Linked DNA regions of Homo sapiens: region 1 is linked to region 2. The links are contacts of gene promoters, found by promoter capture Hi-C in human tissues and cell types (Jung and others, 2019). All regions are on one chromosome and are shown on one strand. The core of a region is centred on a gene start or on the middle of the fragment in contact, and the rest is flanking DNA. Distances in the headings are between cores, read along the strand shown.

What was found. The method cuts DNA at HindIII sites, captures the fragments that hold promoters and counts their contacts. A contact is called where the count stands out against the background at its distance.
Region 1: a contact is called between the fragment with the promoter of GORASP2 here and the fragment with the promoter of MYO3B in region 2, in 1 of the 25 tissues and cell types used here (mesendoderm cells).

Annotation. Positions count from the first base shown.
Region 1 is chr2:170,927,902-170,933,731 of GRCh38, forward strand. GORASP2 (golgi reassembly stacking protein 2) reads left to right here and starts at 1,352. Exons shown (of 10, transcript NM_015530.5): 1 at 1,352-1,502. The coding sequence starts at 1,440. RefSeq lists a silencer at 1,131-1,830. The HindIII fragment of the contact is 18,146 bases long and covers 1-5,830 here.
Region 2 is chr2:170,176,897-170,182,694 of GRCh38, forward strand. It overlaps MYO3B (myosin IIIB), which reads left to right and starts at 1,251. Exons shown (of 35, transcript NM_138995.5): 1 at 1,251-1,393. The coding sequence starts at 1,392. RefSeq lists an enhancer at 3,433-3,662. The HindIII fragment of the contact is 10,734 bases long and covers 1-5,798 here.

The DNA.
Region 1 (5,830 bases), core at 102-2,601, 750 kb after region 2:
CCTCCCACATCTTCATATGCATACATACATATTAATCTGTATTTTGAGGACATGTTTTTCATTTTGTCTACAGACACATCCCGTCTTGTAACCAGCTTTTAAAAAAGACAATAATTTCCACGTTTCCATGTGAATAACTACTCTTCTAATACTCAGTACATATTCAAATTTCTCCAAATGAACCAAAAATGTCCTTTACGCTTATTTCTCCAAGTTGGCCCCCAACTCAAGCCCTTGCAATGTGTCTCTTGGTTATATTCTTCGGGTTCCTTTTAATCTGGCATAGGCCCTTTCATAGGACTCTGACTCGACAAAGAGAACTGGCCAGCTGTCCTGAAGGAAGGCCCACTTCCTGTATTTGCCTGGTTCCCTGTGGTGTCATTTTACTTGCTCCTCAATTCCCCTTACTTCCTGTAAACATCAAACTCAAGATGCCATAGAGGCAAGTTAACCACCTTGGGCTAGAATACTTCATGGGCGATAGCACGTACTTTACATTGCATCACATAGGAATCCACATAATACCTGGTTGACGCAACATCAGTCCAACTGACCACAAAGCAACTAGGGGTTTCAGAGGGAGTACACGTAAGGGGCAAAAGCAGCAACGGAATACGACAACGGAATAAGCATGAATACGACCTGGCTACCTGAAGGAGGTAGGACGGGGAACCGAGCAGCAGCAGGTGGTGGAATGCCAGGGAAATCCAACCGTGCTTCCCACGCTGGCATCGCTCTGATTATGACCAATCCTCTAATCTTATTCTCACAATTAGGGAGGAAGAAAAAAAAACAAACCCAAACCAAAAAAGAAGTTGGTAGGTGACTCTGTGAGACTACTGTTTTATAAAGGGAGCGTTTCCTTTTATAAAATTTAGCTGAGCAGATGCTAGGCAGCCCACAGGAGGCCACTATTCCCCTCAGCTGTACAGTTTGGGAAAATACCTACACACCCGGAGAACAGAGAGCTTGGTGTGTGTTGAGTTCGCTCCTGTTCATCAGCAGCCCTTTCCCCGCCTCTGGCCACCAGGGGGACCTGCAACCAAGTATGTGTTCTTTCAGGCGAGCGGGAACGCGTCTGCATAAATCTAGTCCAATCCAGGGCCCCGTAGCAAGGCGCCAAAGCTGGGGGAAGCGCATTTCTGTTCTCTCGCGAGCACGACGCGGTGCCTCCCAGTCCTCCTCCGGCCCTCCCTCTCCGCCCTCCCGGCCCGCGAGCGCTCGGGCCCCTTCCAGTGGCTCGCGGCAGGTGGCGCTGTCTGCGGCGTCGCAGCGGCCCGGGCTGCAGCAGAGACGATCTCCCGGCGGGCTGTGCGGCCCGGCTCTCCGGCGGCAGCGAGTGCCACGTCCCAAGTGCTACGCGGAGGATTAGAGCAGGCGGTGCGCTGGGGGCGGGAGCAGCGCGGAGCCCGGCTCGGCCACACCGATCGCCCGCCGCCATGGGCTCCTCGCAAAGCGTCGAGATCCCGGGCGGGGGCACCGAGGGCTACCACGTTCTGCGGGTAAGGGCTCCGACGGCGGCCGGGGAGCTGCGGGCTGGAGGCGGGGCCGGCCGCGGGGAGGCGGAGGCCCCCATGGGCTCCTTCACGGGGCAGCCAGGCCCGATCCCGCGAAGGAGCGGCGGTCGCGGGCGCTGCCTTGGTCGAGGCTGGTTCCGGAGGCCGCTCGCATCCCACCTCCGCGGAGCGCCCTGGGCACGGGGTCCGCGGCTGTAGGAGGACGGGCTGGAGCTGGAGGCGGCTGCCGGCGACTCGGCCAGGGGGCGGCCCTGGGAAGGGGGGACAACCTTGCTCTTTTTCCGCACGGCCTTCTCTCTCCTCCACCCCCCCTCATTTTTAGCTTCCAAAGTTAGGAAGGGCGCGGAGGCAACGTCTCCAAAGTGGTGACTGTGAAGGCAGCCTTTGCGCTTTCCTAGGAGAGGGATCCGGACCCGCAGTCCGGAGGCGGGGCCTGCGGCGGCAGGTGTTAAATCACCTCGGCGCCGGCCGAGTGGCCTGAAAGACCAGCAGGGCAGGAGACGGAAAACCAAATGGCCTGGAAGTAGGTTCGACGGACTTAAACAGACTTGATTTTGACCAGACTTTTCCTTTCCCGTGCCACTCCTGACCCTCCCAAACCTTCTCAAGATTTCCTGGAGTGGGAACTTCCGTTCTGTTCCGATTGCTGAGGGTGTGGTTTAGATTATAAGGTTTAGATCCACAGTGGTAAAGAGGTAGTGCAGAGAAATTTTTTTTAAAAATCGGAGTATATAAAGGAAAACAACCCTAGCTTAACTTCCAGGACGCAGAGAAACATAGTATCTCAAAAGGCGTCAGCTAAGCCCCTACCTATGAACGGCCTGGGCCTGGGTGGTACAAAGCATGTGGTCTTTTCCTCATGGAACCGGGCGACTTTAGAAGTAGCATTGATGGTTGTTTGCTGTGACACCTGTGTGAGTGTTAACATGAACAGTCAACAGAGTGGCCGCAGCGTGTAGCGCCATTTAGGGGTGTAATAGAGTGTCACTCAATATTAGCTCCTCACAGGCAAGAACGTTTTCACTGAAAGTAAGAGAGTGCACTTCCTGGTGCTACCTTCATTTCCTGCCCTGGGTCCCATGTTTTAGGTGAGACACATTCTTAAATTGCCCAGCTGTCTATGTGATAGGGCTGAGACAGATCATCTTTCTGATCTTCCGGATTATCGTGTCTATTGCCTTTCCATTACACTAAAAATCCCTCCTCTGCCATACTCTTAGTAGGAAAGGGTGATTTTTTTTTTCCCCGAAAGGAAAAGGGAGCCTATAAATAAACCGTATTATCTTCCTATCCCCTTCTGCTAACCAAACACCCAAGAGCCACACTGAGAGAGGAAATGGAAGGAGAATTGTCAGTTCCCAAATGTGAGGTGAAAGCTGTGCTTTTCTTTCTATTATCTGGTCTGATTTTGAGTTCTCTACCCTGGGATGTTACCCAGTATTACCAGCTGTTTCTCACAGTGACCGATTGTGGTCATGAATCCTTGGGGATTCATGATATTTTTATAATACATGCACTCAGGGAAACTCAGTAAAACACATTAGTGTTAATAAGCAAAAAAAAAAAAAAAAAGTCGCGTGTTTGAAAGAAAGCCATACACATCAAAAGGATTCCAACTTAGTGACTGCATTCCGACATAAAATGAGTTTGTATTTTCTTTATGTAAGTGCAGTCAAGTGAAACAGCATTCATACATATTCAGTAGTGCAGATGTGTTATTAATCTATACATCTGATTTTTAGAAAAACTAGGGACAACCTTAGTTACCAATCTGCATCTGGAGCATTAATGTTGCACACGATGAAATAATTCTTATTTAGTTAGACTTTTACTAAAGAGAGCTTTAAAATAGTAATGATCTAGTTTAGGAGAATTTTGTGTCTGCCTTCCTAAGACCCTCTGCCCCTGATTCTGTAATTGGTTTTCTTATCTTTGTTTTTAGAGGGAAAAGTGCTGTGTTAAATCTTAACATGTAAAAATGTCTTCCTTTCATTTGTTATTGCCTAAATGGACAGCGATATATTTCATTGTTAGATTACCAAGCTTGTAAACTGGAGTAACTGTGGCAGGAAAATTTTGAATAAAATCACCCATATTCAACAAGTTCTAGAACGATTTAATTAGAAGTTAGTTTTCTTGAATAACCAATTCCCTGGCCAATCTTGTTGTAGTAAAAACTTAATATGATTGACTGGGTTTTGAAATACCAATTATAATAACATTTATATCCACTGCTGTCTTTTGATTTCATGAGTCCCTATAATTCAGATAGATTGAGCTTTCCATTTTTTTCATTATTTTTCAATATCCATCTAAAAATATTTAGGGGACAGCCTTTAAATGGATTCAGAAGTTCTGCTATGAGCAGTGTAGTTCCTTTTTATGTGTTCTGTATGTATGAGTGCATATTTTCAGATTGTGATCATATTGTGTACCCAACTTCTTATCCCCACTCCAGAGTAACCACTGTGGACAGTTTTTTACATAGCCTTTCAGATATATTTTATGCTTATAAAAAAGTCTCTTTGGCCGCGCACAGTGGCTCACACCTGTAATCCCCACTTTGGGAGGCCGAGGTGGGCGGATCACCTGAGGTCAGGAGTTCGAGACCAGCCTGACCAACATGGTGAAACCCCATCTCTATTAAAAATATAAAAAATTAGCCGGGCATGGTAGTGCACACCTGTAATCCCAGCTACTTGGGAGGCTGAGGCAGGAGAATCACTTGAACCTGGGAGGCGGAGGTTGCAGTGAGCTGAGATTGTGCCATTGCACTCTAGCCTAGGCAAAAAGAGTGAGACTTCTTTTCAAAAAAAAAAGAGTCTCTTCTTCTTCCACCCTTCTCTCTTTCTTTTTGTTACCTTGTAATCATGATCCATGCTGTTGCACACCTCAGTCTTCTCAGTTGTTGACCTATCTTGGCAGTCTTTCTGTAGTAGCAAGTGGCCATCTGCTTCATGCTTTCAGTTAGCTCACGGTAGTCTTTTGTACCATAGATTGGTTAAGGAGTACCTCCTGGTGTTGAACATTTGGTTATCTAGTCTTCTGTTATTATAAGTACATATTTACAACCTTAAATCCTACTTTTTGTTTTCCCATAACATACATCCTTTTCCCAGATTACTGTATTGAATTTTAATGGTAGCTGTCTGTAGAAATGTTGATCTTTATTTTAGTAAATAACTACATTGTTTTCTGATCATCAACATGTGTCCATTAGAGAACATTTGGATGTGGTAAAAAAGTACAGCAAAGAACCTGAATTACCTGTAATCCCACCATCTAAAGGCAAATACTGTTGAAGTATTTCTCTTAGTCTCCTTTTTTTCCTGGGCCTAACATCGCCCCTTAGCCATGTTTCACAAAGATTTTGAATAATATGACGTATTCAAGGACTATATGGCCAAAAGTTATCTTAAGAGGTTAACATTACAACCAAAATAGCCAACAGCTGAGAAATTGTTAAACAAATCAGGGCCTAAACACAGATAGAATGCTACACATTCACTCAAAATTGTGTTTCAGACACCCTGTGTGTGTGCAGGTACATTTGAGTGCTTAGGAAAATAAAGCTGAAAGGTAATAAACAAGGTTGTCTAAAAAATTATTAGTGGATGGTGACTTTTTTTTTAACTTTAATATATTTTCTAGGATTTCTGAAGTGATCATTAAATACTTGTATAGTCACCCAAAGTGTAGATATGCAAAATTACTTTTAAAAAAGAAGTGGACTCCTAGTGGAGGATTTAAAAATTTGTGTAGAAGTCTTTTTTTAAAAAATAGCATTTCAGATTTCCTTATATAGTGGGTCAGATTTGTGCTCACTATGAATGGCACTTTTATTTTGGTCCTCCAATCCTAATGTAAGGCAGGAAAAATGTTAGGGCTTCTCAGTTTTTGAAGTTATTGTAAGTTACCCCCTACATGTGAACTATGTTTAATATCAAATTTTTGCCTATATTTTCCATTAATTATCCAGTGAACCCAACAAGACCATTTTCAAAATTAAATTAAACCAAAATATCCAACAGGTGAGAAATTGTTAAACAAATCAGGGCCTAACCACAGATAGAATGCTATACATTCGCTCAAAATTGTGTTTCAAACACCCTGTGTATGTGCAGGTACATTTGAGTGCTCAGGAAAATAAAGCTGAAAGGTAATAAACAAGGTTCTCTAAAAAATTATTAGTGACATAGTTCACAAAATTAAATTTTTGGAGTGACCTCACAGATGCCTATTATAGGATCTGCTTTTAAATTAAAATATTCATATTCTGTTCCACACTTAAAAGAGATGGGGAATAGCTGAGG
Region 2 (5,798 bases), core at 1-2,500:
ATGTGCAAATACTGTAGGAAATATAGGAAGATAGAACACATTATCCCCATTCTTAAGATTCTTATGACAGTAAATGGAAACACAAAGGCCATTATTGACTAGCGGGAGTAAGATCGCTGTCCTTTAAATCACCTTCTTCATATTTGCATTCTCTGTGTGCTGTTTCTTGGCTCTGGGTTTCTCTCCTGCCTCATCTACACTAATCCTTTTCACTTCTTCATTCAAAACTGTACCTAGATTTATCTGCTCCAGGAAGCATTCCCACTCAAGTCTTGGTCCTGGGTTGAACTGACTCCTCCTCAGAATTGATGGATATAGCTTATCCAGTGTTATTGCACAGTCTTCAACTATTTCACATGGGCCTATGTGTCATGTTAGCTGGCCAGAAAAGAAGCTTTCTGGGGACCCTACCCTCCTGTTTCTCACTTCCCCTCTCTCCCTTTTTTTTTTTTTTTTTTTTTTTTGAGATGGAGTCTTACTTTGTTGCCCAGCCTGGAGTGCAGTGGCAGAATCTCTACTCACTGCAACCTCCGTTTCCCAGGTTCAAACAATTCTCCTGCCTCAGCATCCCTGGTAGCTGGGATTACAGGCGCACACCACCATACCCTGCTAATTTTTGTATTTTTAGTAGAGATGGGGTTTCCCCATGTTGGCCAGGCTGGTCTCGAACTCCTGACCTCAGGTGATCCACGAGCCTTGGCCTCCCAAAGTACTGGGATTACAGGCGTGATCCACCATGCCCAGCACCACCCCCCCACCCCCTGCCTCCTCTTAACCTACTGTTCTGTATATAGCCCAGGGCATGCTACTGAATGAATAGTCACTGTTGAATAGTCACTGTTTCATTGCTTGGTAATTCAGATCAGAAACTCATGGTGTTTCCCCTGGGTTTATCTGCAGTTCAGAAAAGTGACCCTGACTACATGCTTTGATTATGCCCTTTGCTCACAAAAAGATGATTAGTTTTGATTGTGCAGCATTTGGAATGAAGGAATTTAATCTGGAATGAAGGAACTTTAAAAGGTTGGGGGAATATCACATTGGAACTGTTAAATGACATGCAAACAGGATCTGTGAGAATGGTTTTGATTCTGCTCTGTGTCCTGGTAGGAGACACTAAATAGATCAGGCTCACTACCAATTAGCATCATCTTAATCTTGCCTAATAGTGAAGCAAAGTCACCAAGGATTTGGTGGATTTATCAGCTCCTCCCACAATAGTCATCTGAGGCTAACACCTCTTGGAACCTAGATCGAAAGTCCTTTGGTAATGATGTGTCATACATTCTAGTCATCAAAGACACCATTTTCTGGGCCTGAAGTGTTCTGCTGGTTTTTGGAGGAATGAGAATCCAATCTCTCATAAGCCGGATTCAGAAAATAGGTCATCGATGTGAGTTGCAGTTATTTTCCTTCCAGCTTTCTTCTGTGCTTGCTTTAGATTGTTTTTCTGCAAAGGGCAGATGCAGCTGCCCTGGCTGGTGGGCAGTGGAGGGGGATGACAGCCACTCTGGCTTTGGGCCTCTGTCTGACATCACCCAGATTCCTGGGTCCTCTCAGTTAGCATTTGCCTTTTGTCTGGGTGGTTAAATTTCTCTTGAAGGAGTAGGATAAACACCCTCTTGAGTATTGCTTTTTACACAGACACACACCACACACACACACACACACACACACACATACACACAGCATAGTTCATAGTCACTTGATTTGCCACCTGCAGTTTATAATAGAATGGACCTGTGGGATTATAAACCACTTTATTTCTGCACAGAATTTCTCAGCTTGAGGCCAAATTGAAGGGCATTAGTCATCAGTAATTTGCAGATGTTTTTAATGTTTTTCACCCAAGAGAGGTTTCAGGCAGCTAAAGCTAAGATAAATTTCCTCATGCTTTGGTGGGGAAATGAAAAATCTGATCATTTAGTTAATCATTTGTAAGAGCTGTGGGTATGTATTGTTCCTTAGTGACTGCAATATCATGACAGATTTGTTAATTTGGTAACATGACAATGTAAACAATAGTAGATAAATTCCATTATGCCATGATTCTTTTCTTCCTCTCAGTAATTTTGTATATTCAAGGTTTAAAATCCATAGAACATTAGAGATGGAACTTAGAGATCAACCTAGAGATCATTGGATTCCTCTACCAAGCTCTGTCAAATGCCAGTCCTGAGTGTCTCCCCTGGAGCATCAGGATAAATAGCTAATGCATGGGGGGCTTAATAGGTGCAGCCAACCCACCATAGCACATGTTTATCTGTGTAACAAACCTGCACGTCCTGCACATGTAACCTGGAACTTAAAATAAAATAAAATTTAAAGAAAGGAAAAGAGTACATAATCAGTGGAACCATAAAGGTCAGTTCTAGTGGGAAAATTAGGAAAGGCCTCCTAGAAGAGAAGACATTTGAGCTATACTTGAACAGGCCCTATCTAGCAGCATCCAGATAGGTGGTTTGTGAAGAAGCCAGTTCCTACTCTTACGTCTTTACCATGGTTATGGTTTGAATGTCCCCTCCAAAGATCATGTTGAAATTTAATTGCCATTGTGAGAAGAAATGGGACCTTTAAGAGGTGACTAGGTCATGAGGGCTCTGCCCTTATGAATGGATTAATGCTGTTATTGTGGGAGACGGCTCCTAGTAAAAGGATAGGTTCAGTCTCCTTTTTCTCTCTCTTGAGCTCTCACTCTCTTGCCCTGTCTCACTATGTGAGACCTTCCACCATGTTATGATGCAGCAAGAAGGCCCTCACCAGATGTGGCCCCTTGATCTTGGACTTCCCAGCCTCCAGAACCATGAGCCAAATAAACTTCTATTGTTTATAAATGATGCAGTCTGTGGTATTCTGTTACAGCAGCAGAAAATGGACTAACACAACTATTATGCACTTGCTTATGTATTGGTTTGGAATTATTCTCTAATTTACTCACGCTTGTATGGTATGTGTTTCCTTATTCTGTGTATCTCTGGGTGTTATATTTAATATTTGTACAGATTTCCTCTGACATTTCACAGTTCAGGTTTCCGATTTCTTCTTTCTAAAATCTATTCTCTAGATTTGAAAGCATTCTATGATTTGTGATTCATATATACCATACTATAACATCTAGAAAAAATATTCTGAATAGCATACTGAGCAATGGAAATCTTCATCATGAATTTTCTAATGAGTATAAAATGTTGCTGGGCAAGTTTCTATTTAAATCATGCTCGCTAGGCTTGACTAACTGCAGACATTCACAGGGTGCATGCTGCAGAGTGCTTTACTTTCAACAAGGTAAGGCTGTACCTCCGTTAGGGACTAATTCAGGGTATTCAACAAGGGATCAGACTAGACCAATTTGGGGTTGTTAAGGAACTAAAACTAGCTCACGAGAAACTCAAATCAGCTCATGAAAAGAGGGGCTGCTTGGAAGAATGCAGTAGGAAATTTCATGGGTTACAAGGACAGACAGCAAAGCTTAGCAGGCCTCAGAGGGCCAAGATGTAGAATTCACAGTGAACCCACTCACTAATCCTCTTTGTCTCACTCTCTCAAGCATGGTCCTTTCAGTTTCTTATTTCTCTGTTTTCTTTTTCTTCTCAGGATGAGCCTCTGTTTCATATGGTTTCTGCTATCCTCTGACTTCAGCACACATTTGGGTCATAATAGTCTCCTCTGTAGAGATCTCTTATATGTTTTTTTAAAAAATATTTATTTTAAAAAGTAGAATAACATATGCACTAGCAAAAAACATGACTAAAAATGTGTAATAATTTTAAAAAGCATATAAATTTCTCTCTTTTCCAAACTCTCTGATTTTTACCACCTCTCCCTAAAGTTTAAGAGTTTCCTGTGTAGCCTTCTGGAAAAATGTATATAAGGATATACACATACATAGAGACATACACACAAATATACACATAAAATGACTAGAAATGCAAATATTCTTTGTATTTACACAAAAATTGTCCTCTCTATACACTATTCAACACTTTTAAAACAAATCTTAATTGTATATTTGGCATTCTTTCCATATTAATTGGCAGAAAATTTACCTTTTTTCTTTTTGGTGGTTACCTGTGGCTACATTGTATTTAATTTTATGTAACTATTATGATTTATTAGATAATCTCTCCATGATGATGGGCCTCTAGGTTGTATCTGGTTTTCTACTGAAAATAATACTATAGTGAACAATCTTGTATGTCTATCTACTTCAAGTTTAATAGAGTTTTAGCTCTTACATCTGTTTAATGATTAAAGTTAATTTTTATATGTGGTGTAAGGATAAAGATTCTTTTTTTCTTTTTGCATATTGCTCTACAATTGTTTTAGCACTGTTGAAAAGTTTTCCTTTCTAGTATGTAGAAATATAATTGAATTTAAAATATTGACCTTGTTTGTATCCTGTAATTCTGATAAACTCACTAATTAGTTCTAGTAATGTTTTTATAAATTCCATCAGTTTTTTAAATAGATAATCATGTAATCTTCAAATTAAGCCCATTTTACTTCTTCCCTTCTAATCTGGATTTTTAAATTTTCTTTTTCTTGACTTATTATTCTGGCTTCACCACAGTATTCAATATAAATGATGAGAGCAGACATCCTTGGCTTCTGATCTTAAGGTGAAAGCATTCGGTTTTTCACCATTAAGTGTGGTGTTAACTTCAGGTTTTTCCTAGATTCCTGTATCAGATGAAGAAGTTCCTTTCACTTTCTAGTCTGTTGAGAGATTTTTGTTGTTGTTTTTAAATTTTGAATAAATGTTGAATTTTTTGTGAATGCTTTTTCTGCATCGATCGAGATGATGGTTTTTCTTTTATGTTCTGTTAATATAAATCTAAGTGTGCTTTTTTTGATTATATATGTAAAGTAAATGCCTACCAGTAGAATTACAGAGACAAAGGGAATGGGCATTTGGTAGATTTTGACTAATAATTCCTCACAAAGATTGTTTACGCTTTCGCTCATGTTGTCTCAGAGTGCTTATTTCTCTTAACACTATTATCAAACTTCTAAAAATCTTGACAGTGTGATAGGAGACAAATGGTATCTCATTAGTTTGATTTGCCGTTTAAAATTTACTAGTGAGATTTAGCATCTTTTATACATTTAAATTTTTTGAGTCTTTTTCTTTTTTATTGTATATACTCTTGATAGAAAATTAGCTCCTGATACAAACCTTCTTTTCTATTTATTTTTTGGAAAAATGTTAGTACTTACAACAATTCTTTTGGTTGTAGAGACCTTTTTACTTGTATGCAATTATGTTTATCAATTTTTTTCTTAGGGCTTGTGAGTTTTCTATTCTACTTGAAAATATTTCTTGCCTACACCAAGACTATAATGTATTTAGCTATATTTTTTTAAAAAATTTTGAGCCACCATACTCTATTTTGGAGAAAGGAATGAGGTAGCAATCTGGCTTAACTTTTTTTCTGAACAGCCAGCAAGTTAAGCCAGCATAATTTATTGAACAGTATTATTTAGTCCATCTTTTGCCTATTGATTTGTAATGTGATTTTTATCATAAACCCTATTTCTTTGTGTATTTGAGTCTACTTTTGGTTTCTAGTCTAACGATCTGACTACTTATTTCTACCCCTGTGGCATAATGTTTTAATTACTCTAGCAGTATAACATGTTTTAGTGTCTGGTCAAATTATGTTCACTAATTATTCTTTTTTAAAATTTTCATGTTATGTGTTTTTCTTTTTCTGTTTCTTTTTTTTTTTTTTTGAGACTGAGTTTCACTCCATTGCCCAAGGTGGAGTGCAGTGGCGTGATCTCAGCTGTCTGCAACC